Regions from separate parts of the Homo sapiens genome. Here all the other regions are linked to region 3. Evidence: promoter capture Hi-C in 16 types of primary human blood cells and fetal thymus (Javierre and others, 2016). All regions are on one chromosome and are shown on one strand. The core of a region is centred on a gene start or on the middle of the fragment in contact, and the rest is flanking DNA. Distances in the headings are between cores, read along the strand shown. Region 1 overlaps SLC35F2 (solute carrier family 35 member F2). Region 2 has its middle 12 kb from the start of SLN. Region 3 holds the start of ALKBH8 (alkB homolog 8, tRNA methyltransferase).

Region 1 (2,743 bases), core at 84-2,583, 230 kb before region 3:
ACAGGGGCAGCTCACGGTGGCTCTGGAGTACGTTTCCTCTGTCAGATGCTTCAAGGTTTTTTTTTTTTTTTTTTTTTGCTGAGGCAGTTATTGTCCACAGGCCTTTGGGTACAGATGAGGCCTTGGGGCTGACTGCATGTGGCAGAAAACGGGTGGGTCAGCCCTTGAAAAGTCTTGAGATATAAGTGTGAGTACTATACAAGCATTAAACTGGAGTGCAGTAAACCTAGGAACCTTCCCACAATTGTTTTTTTGTTTGTTTGAGATGCAGAGTCTAGAGTGCAGTGGTGCAAGCTCAGCTTACTGTAACCTCTGCCTCCTGGATTCAAGTGTTAGTAGCTGGGATTACAAAAGCATGTGGCCCCACGCCCAGCTAAGTTTTGTATTTTTAGTAGACATGGGGTTTCACCATGTTGCCCAGGCTGGTCTTGACCTCCCGACCTCAAGTGATCTGCCTGCCCCGACCTCCCAAAGTGCTGGGATTACAGGCTTGAGCCACCGTGCCAGGCCTGTTTTGTTTGTTTTTGTAGAGAGATGGGGTTTCGCCATGTTGCCCAGGCTAATCTCAAATTCCTGAGCTAAAGCGATCTGCCCACCTCGGCCTCCGAAAGTGCTAGGATTACAGATGTGAACCACTGTGCCTGGCCTGTTTGTTTGTTTGTTTAAAACATTTCTCCATCACTCATTCCAGGTCCCAGAGCAAACTCTCTCTGCTCTCGGAGCCTGTGACACTGGCTATGTGCTCCACAGTTTCAGTCCCAGGTCATACTCTCCAACAGTTTTCAGAGCTCCATATATATGTAGATGCCATCCTTTCTAAAAACTTCTCACGACCTCCTGGAATATTCCTATTGATCTCATTTTATTTAGCATCAGCTCAAGAAACTAAGTCTTAGTGCACAGTATCACAACAAAGAAAAAGCTTTGTTTTTATAACTGGTAAAAACAAGAAAAGATTCTCATCAAAATGAAAATATAAAATTAATCATTTCTCACCAAAGAGTATGCCTGGGAGCCTCCAGCTGTTAAAAGACAATGCTATTACTACTTCTTATCAAAAATCTGTAATGCCCTGTGATTTTTATGATACTTCTTCAATACAAAGTGTTAATATGTGTCATCAGTATAATAACAACCAACAAAATGCCACTTTCAGAAAACTGTATGTAAATTTTTTGTAACAATGTAAAAAAGAAATGGGGAGTAAGTGTTCACATCATTAAAAGGCTTTGAATTCATGGAAATACATCAACTGTGTGGTTTCTTTGATTAACCATTTCCCCTTGTGGATTTTTTTTCCAGTAAAGCCGTCCTTCAAAACCCTTGTGGATTTTTTTTTCTTCTTTTTTTTTTGTTTGAGTCTTGTCCTGTCGCCCAGGCTGGAGTGCAGTGGTGCCATCTCAGCTCACTGCAACCTCTGCCTCCTGGGTTCAGCAATTCTCCTACCTGGACTACAGGTATGCACCACCATGCCCAGCTAATTTTTGTATTTTTAGTAGGGTATCACCATGTTGGCCAGGCTGGTCTCGAACTGACCTCAAGTGATCCACCCACCTCAGCCTCCCAAAGTGCTGGGATTACAGGCATGAGCCACCACGCCTGGCCTCCTTGTGGATTTTGAATGACTTGACATATTCAGTATTTCTTCATATTCAATTTTTCAGAGTCGTATCCTCTGTGGGGTGAGGCAAGCCTGTCTATTTGGGGACTATGCTGGGATTCCAGGGAATTCAGAGCAAGCTTACCGATCATTTGCAGGAATAAACATTTTCCAATTCTGAATTACCACAATGAGTTTTTTTTTACTTTTTTGAGTGAAGTAACCTTTCATTTTCTGCAACCAATTAAAACTGCCTTTTCAATCGATGTTTGGTTTTTGCTCCCTAACATTAACAACTATGAGAGTGGGAAAGGTTATGTTAAAATGTTTGGCTCTTTTAGGAAGACTTTCAGTTTGATTAGCACACTGATGGTTTAGTTTTAAATTTGTGCTATTTTGCTCATTGTTTCATTTTATTTACACCAGCGACAGCCGCAGTCAGAACTGCAGTTGCTGATCCTGCAAGGTTGCTGTTTGGTGAGCAGGGTCATTCACAAAGTCTTTGGTTACATATTTGGGTGTTTAGGATACATATACACCAGGATGGACTTTAGAAAAAGGAAGTAGGCCGGGTGCACTGGCTCAAGCCTGTAATCCCAGCACTGTTACGTGCAGGTCTTTGTTCTTAGAGCTCCCAAGATGGTGGTGGGCCGCTCCCAAGATGGGGCAGGCCACACCCAAGATGGCAGCAAGCCTTTTGTTCTCTGACCTGGGGTTCTTGGCCTCAGTGGATTCCAAGGAATGGAACCTTGGGCCATGTGGTGAGTGTTAAGCTCTATTAGAAGCCGTGGGTCACGGAAGAGAACCGTGGAAACCAGCAACTAGTGTTCAGTTCGATTAGGATGAACCTGGGCACTTAGTCATGCAGAAACAATGGCGAGCCTTTAGCCTGATCAGGAGCAGCAATGGGCGCCTCGCTGGATCAGGAGCACAGTGGACACTCTGCCAGATCCGGAGGGGTGGAAGTCAATGGTGGGTCTGCAACGGCAGCAAACAGCAGTGGTGGACGGCTCGGCTGGAGCCGTAACAAACACGGACAAGAAGTGTAGCTGCAAGATTTAATAGAGTGAAAACAGAGCTCCCATACAATGGGAGGGGACCCAAAGGGGGTTGCCCGATCCGGTTCGAATGCCTGGGTTTATA
Region 2 (2,923 bases), core at 420-2,919, 130 kb before region 3:
TGCCTGGCATTAGCAAATGCTCAATAAATGGTAGTTAATCTTGTTATAACATAAGCAAAGTACGATATTTGATACATAGCCTCACTTTTAAAAAGAAGTGTTAGATTTTAGTACTTTTTTTGTTTTGTTTTGTTTTTGAGACAGAGTCTCACTCTGTCACCCAGGCTAGAGTGCAGTGGCACGATCTCAGCTCACTGCAACTTCTGCCTCCTGTGTTAAAGCGATTCTCCTGCTTCAGCCTCCCGAGTAGCTGGGATTACAGGCATGCACCATGACGCTGGCTAATTTTTGTATTTTTAGTAGAGACGGGGTTTCACCATGTTGGCCAGGCTGGTCTAGAACTCCTGACCTCAAGTGATCCTCCTGCTTTGGCCTCCCAAAGTGCTGGGGTTACAGGCGTGAGCCACCATGCCCAGCCAAAGATTTTAGTACACTTTTAAAGAAAGCATCAAGGATTGGTGGTGGGGTGGTGGTTGCTGCTGCTGCTATTTCAACACTATTTCTTCTAAGAGGATAATAAAACACTTTGAGAAAGTTGTGGCTTCTTTTTTTCTTTCTTTAGCAGGGGAAAGGGATAGGGATACTGAATTGTAGAATCCCTTTGCTCATGAAGAATACAATGTATTTCTCAAAATGCAAGAACTACTTGAATTACAATACTCAAAATACTTTTTCAATTGCAGATTCCTGCACCAACTCCAGAACTACTGCCAGGGAACTTCTGAGAGTGGGATCTGGCTTGCTATGTTTTAAGCCAGCTCCCCAGGTGATTGTTATAGTCACTAAAGTTTGAGAATCCCAGATCTACAACATCCTCCCGCACCAGCACCCAAGATTTGCATTTCTGCTCTTTTTTTTTTTCTTTCAGACAGGAGTCTTACTTTGTTCCCCAGGCTGGAGTGCAGTGGTAAGATCACGGCCCATTGCTGCCTTCACCTCCTGGGCCCAGGCGATCTTCCCACCTCAGCCTCCCCAGTAGCTGGGACCACAAACATGCACCACCACACCTGGCTAATTTTTGTATTTTTTTTTTTTTTTTTTTGTAGGGATGGATTCTCCCTGTGTTTTCCAGGCTGGTCTCAAATTCCTGGGCCCAAGTGATTCTACCGCTTCAGCCTCCCAAAGTGCTGGGATCATAGGAGCAAGCCATAGCTCCCAGCCCTGCATTTCTACTGTTTTCAAGAACTTGGGCTCTGGTTGGACTGAGAAGTTCACAAAATTCCACTTTTCCGGAGAGGTTGCAAAATTCTTACCCCCATCCCTTTGAACTGCAAAAGTACATTCTTTATCTTCCCATCTCTCCAGGAAAAGCTTTCCTTGCACCCTTTACCCCCATTCCTAGTCTGTTCCCACACTGGGTCTTTATTCTCTCCCAAACAAGTTTGCCCTGTTGTACTTGGAGATTCAAACCCTGTCTACGATGCCACTTAATAAAAGTTATTTTTTAAACCTGAAGTTATATAGTGTATTAACTTGTATGCAAGAGTTCTATTTTGACATATTTTCAATGAAGATGCTGGAACTGTCATTCCAATTTTAATGGCTTTACAGATATTAAACATCAATAGGTGTTTCCAAATTATGTCTCCTTTTGGCTTTCACTTTTCCGGGCAGTCAGATTACACCCAAGGATTAAAAATCAGCATAAAACAGTCTCTACTTTAGACCTCAGACTTAAAAAATTCCGAATCTTGTGACTTTCTCTCTGGGAAAGTAAGTAAAAAATGAGTTTTCTCAACAGCAGCAATTCCAGCCAGGGTCTGCATGATAAGATATCTGTCTCGGGGCAGTGTTCACAGGTTCCAGCCAATACTGCCTGATCCAGATCCAACTGTGAGCTGTCTCTCTTCCAACAACATACTCATTTTATATTCCTCTGACACTGCTTCAAAAAGGACATGGAGAAAGAAGTCTATTTTCAACACATGCTGTGTCTACAATGATGACATGCATGGTGATACCCACCACCCACATCACAAACACCCTGCCAAGTCCTAAGCTAATTCGACTTCACAATGGCAAGCTTTTCAGATGCCCAGAGGTTTTATGGTGATTATTTGACGATTCAACACGAAAGCAGCTCCTGTTGTTTGCCACATCCACACTGAGCTTTCCATTCATTCAGAATGACAAGGCATTCATAGCGTCTCGCAATCAATTTTGAGATGTCTCTGTGAGTGAAAGAGCTCCATTGGCAACATTGCAAGGCCCTTTTTGTAAGTCACCATTTCCATCCCTACCCCATCCTGTCAGAATGACTGGGGTCACATTCATATTGCAGACCAGCAGAATCAGTGGGAAGCCGAACTTGGAAGATTGGATTTGATCTCATGCATCATACTATCTTGATTTTGGAAATGAGAGACAGTCACATGCAATTTGAGAGACTGCCAACCTGAGACACATTTTGAATTATACCATATGTCACTGGCTTTAAGCATGGTTTCAGACCAGTTCATTTTGAATGACACTCGCGGTGGCTCACGCCTGTTATCCCAGTACATTGGGAGGCCGAGGCTGGCAGATCACGAGGTTACGAGATTGAGACCATCCTGGCTAACACGGTGAAACCCCGTCTCTACTAAAAATACAAAAAATTAGCCGGGCGCGGTGGCGGGCACCTGTAGTCCCAGCTACTTGGGAGGTTGAGGCAGGAGAATGGCGTGAACCCGGGAGGCGGAGCTTGCAGTGAGCCGAGATCGCGCCACTGCACTCCAGCGTGGGCAACAGAGCGAGACTCTGTCTCAAAAAAAAAAAAAAAAAAAAAAAAAAAAAAAATCACAGGCCAGGAATGGGGGCTCACGTCTGTAATCCTAGCACTTTGGAAGGTCCAGCTGGGAGGATTGCTTGAGTTCAGGAGTTCAAGACCAGCCTGGGCAACATAGTGAGACCTCATCTCTATTTTTTTTAATTAAAAAATTTT
Region 3 (2,946 bases), core at 358-2,857:
GTGCAGAAGCAGAATTGCAATGGGGAGATTTCCTGTGTGTCCTCTTATACTCATGTAGCTTGCAATGTCTGGTGGATTTGACCTCTCCAGCTTGCACTTGCCTCCTCATTTTTACTATTAAGTTTTGGTCTCACCCTTTCTTTCCTAGACTATTGCAATGCTTGCCTATCTGCCTCTTCTGTTCTTTCATGTTTGTAACCTATTCTCCACACAAATCATTCCGCCACTCAACAGCACTCTTTTTTCACTGCCACTTTTCCTGGTCAGCCAGCTATTTTATTGTTAGTCCACTGTGGTGCACTGCAGATAGGGGCCATTGTATCAACAACATGGGAAGGTGATTCCTCTTCCCCTACACCTTTCCCTCCCTGCACTCACATAGCTCATAAACCAATGCAGGTAGAAGGATTATGGTACATTTATATAACAAATAACAGAGCAGGAACAACTGCTAATCATCACCCTCTCCTTTGTCTTTTACTTATGATCTGTTACCAGCTCTTTTTTCTTTCCCTCTGCCACTACTGGGCTTGTTAATATTTCGTTACTTTTCACTTCATCAGTCATCTTCTAGTCTCTCCTCCCACTTGCCACAAGAAGCTCTGGTCATATCATTTCATTTCTCTAACCTTCCTCCCTGCAACTCCCACTCTGCAGGCCTACAGAATTCTGTCTTGCTTCCTTCACCATTCTTCCACACATCTTTCTATTACTCTGTGGTACTCACCATTCCCCTGGCACATTCATGCATATTCACTTCCTTCCCTCCCGCCCATGCAATGCCATCTTTCAGACCCCAGGATCCTCTCCCATATCTCTGTGAACCCTGAATATCTGAGACAGGTCTCAGACAATTTAGGAAATTTATTTTGCCAAAGTTAAGGACGCCCGCCCGTGACACAGCCTCAGGAGGTCCTGATGATATGTGTCCAGGGTGGTCGGGGCACAGCTTGGTTTTATACATTTTAGGGAGACATGAGGCATCAATCAATATATGTAAGATGAACATTGGTTCCGTCCAGAAAGGAGGGACAAATTGAAGCAGAGGCGGGCCAACTCAAAGTGAGGAGGGGGCTTCCAGGTCGCACGTATTACAGCTGAGAGACAAATGGTTGCATTCTTTTGAGTTTCTGATGAGCCTTTCCAAAGGAGGCAATCAGATATGCATTTATCTCAGTGAGCAGAGGGATGACTCAGAGGGATGACTTTGAATAGAATGGGAGGCAGGTTTGCCCAAGCAGTTCCTAGCTTGACTTTTCCCTTTAGCTTAGTGATTTTGTGGCACCAAGATTTATTTTCCTTTCTCACCTCTAATAAGATTCAGGAGGAAATATGCACGAAGAATAGAAGGTGCCAGGGGACATTGCTGAAAGACCAAAGGGCCCAAACCTGTTTGACCTTGTCCATTTGGAGAGCAACAGATAAAAATATAGCTGCACTACCAATTATTACTACTCCCCCCAAAAAGACAACTGAATTTTCAGTGTAACAGACAGCACTTTACAAAGACACTTGGTCGAAAAAGGGTCACTCCCGGGCTCTGGGAGGCGAAGAGGACTGTGGGAGCGCTGTTCGTTGTCCCGCGGGCTCATGGGAAATGTAGTGCAGTTTTCTCCAACATGGCCGCGCCCAGGGGAGATGGCGTGCAAGTATCCGCTGCGGTGTTCTGGTGCTAGAGTGGAGAGGCTGGCAAAGAAGAAGGCACACGCATGGTGAGAATCCGGCCTGAGCCGAAGCGGAGGTGTGTGGCACTTCTTACTGGCGGGCATACGGGCAGCAAATCACCGCTTCCTCTTTTCAGCCTCTTCCGGTCTTCTCTATCCGCCTTGCCAGCTAGGGCTGAGAACCTAGGGAAAGGGGATGGATCCCAGAGGCGCCCTTGGTGCAGTGTGGGCAGTAGGGTGTCTGCGTTGGGTGGTTCTCTCAGTGTTTAGGGTGCATGTGTTTGTGTTTGGTTCGGGCGCTCACGTGGTGCCTGTGTCAATCTTCTGTTTTCTTTGGGGTTGGAGAGGACGGTTGCAACATGGGGCGTGTTAGTGTGGCGCTTCTGGGGCTTTTCTGACCGGTGACAATCGGTCTGATTGCATCGATGCAAAGGCAGTGCTGATGATCTGATCCCTTGCGCAGCTGAGTCTTCCTGTGCTCTTATTTGAGCAATCCCTGCGACTCCTGGACCTCTGGTAGCGTCAGCCTGTTATTTTGATAGATTTCATTGAATATTTATTGTCAGTTGTATGTCAGGCACCAAGTCTGTGCCCTTAAATAGATGACAGTTTTCTGGCCGAAGCCCAACACAAACAGGCAATTATAATACCATGTGAGAACTCTAGAGATAGAGGTCCATGCTAGGTGTTAATGAAAACGTTGAAGAAGGCCACCAAACTCAGAATTCTGGAGGAGGGGAGGTTTAGGAGGTAAGACAGCAAAGTCGATTTAGGTTTATTCGACAAATGGTTATTGAGTGGCTGCTAGGTGCTAAATCCTGTTTAAGTGCTGGGTGCTACAGGGTGAACAATAGAGACAAAATCTCTACTTCATGGAGTGAGTGTTCTTTATTCAGTTATGGGGAAAGACAGAATAAACAAATTAATGAGAGTGTAAGAAAATATGTAGTAAGTGTTATTCAAAGAGTTAAAACGGGGTGCCGTGACAAGTGATGGGGTGAATTTTTTTCTAAAAATTTTAAATCTTTATTTTCTTTTTAAATAGATGATGCAGTTTAAATAGCTACTAACTTCAAAAGTCATGAAAGAAGAAAGCTCCCTTTCATTCCTTTACTCATCGATCCATTTTCCTTCCCTGGAGGCAACCCATATCACCAATTTCTTGTGTGTCCTAAAGATTTATATGTAAACTCTGTATACCAGTGCCGTACGTTAAAATTGGGCCTCGTTTGATAGGAAGTTAGATTCTTTCTAATCTTTGCTATTAATTATTAGGTTGTGC

Evidence for each region. Contacts are between HindIII fragments. The CHiCAGO score rates a contact against its expected background, and 5 or more counts as called.
Region 1: a fragment that was not itself captured here is called in contact with the fragment with the promoter of ALKBH8 in region 3 in 1 of 17 cell types (activated CD4 T cells); the score reaches 5.8 in activated CD4 T cells.
Region 2: a contact is called between a fragment that was not itself captured here and the fragment with the promoter of ALKBH8 in region 3, in 2 of 17 cell types (endothelial precursors and M2 macrophages). The highest score is 5.9, in endothelial precursors.

The regions. Positions count from the first base shown.
Region 1 is chr11:107,789,496-107,792,238 of GRCh38, reverse strand. SLC35F2 (solute carrier family 35 member F2) reads left to right here. Exons shown (of 8, transcript NM_017515.5): 8 at 1-1,248. Among named protein-coding and RNA genes, the nearest start is that of SLC35F2, 68 kb to the left of the region's middle. RefSeq lists a silencer at 1,455-1,664. The HindIII fragment of the contact is 818 bases long and covers 925-1,742 here.
Region 2 is chr11:107,699,016-107,701,938 of GRCh38, reverse strand. No RefSeq gene overlaps it. Among named protein-coding and RNA genes, the nearest start is that of SLN, 12 kb to the left of the region's middle. The HindIII fragment of the contact is 712 bases long and covers 1,314-2,025 here.
Region 3 is chr11:107,564,396-107,567,341 of GRCh38, reverse strand. ALKBH8 (alkB homolog 8, tRNA methyltransferase) reads left to right here and starts at 1,607. Exons shown (of 12, transcript NM_138775.3): 1 at 1,607-1,741. RefSeq lists enhancers at 1,315-1,374, 1,221-1,737, 1,445-1,934, 1,738-2,256. The HindIII fragment of the contact is 7,705 bases long and covers 1-2,946 here.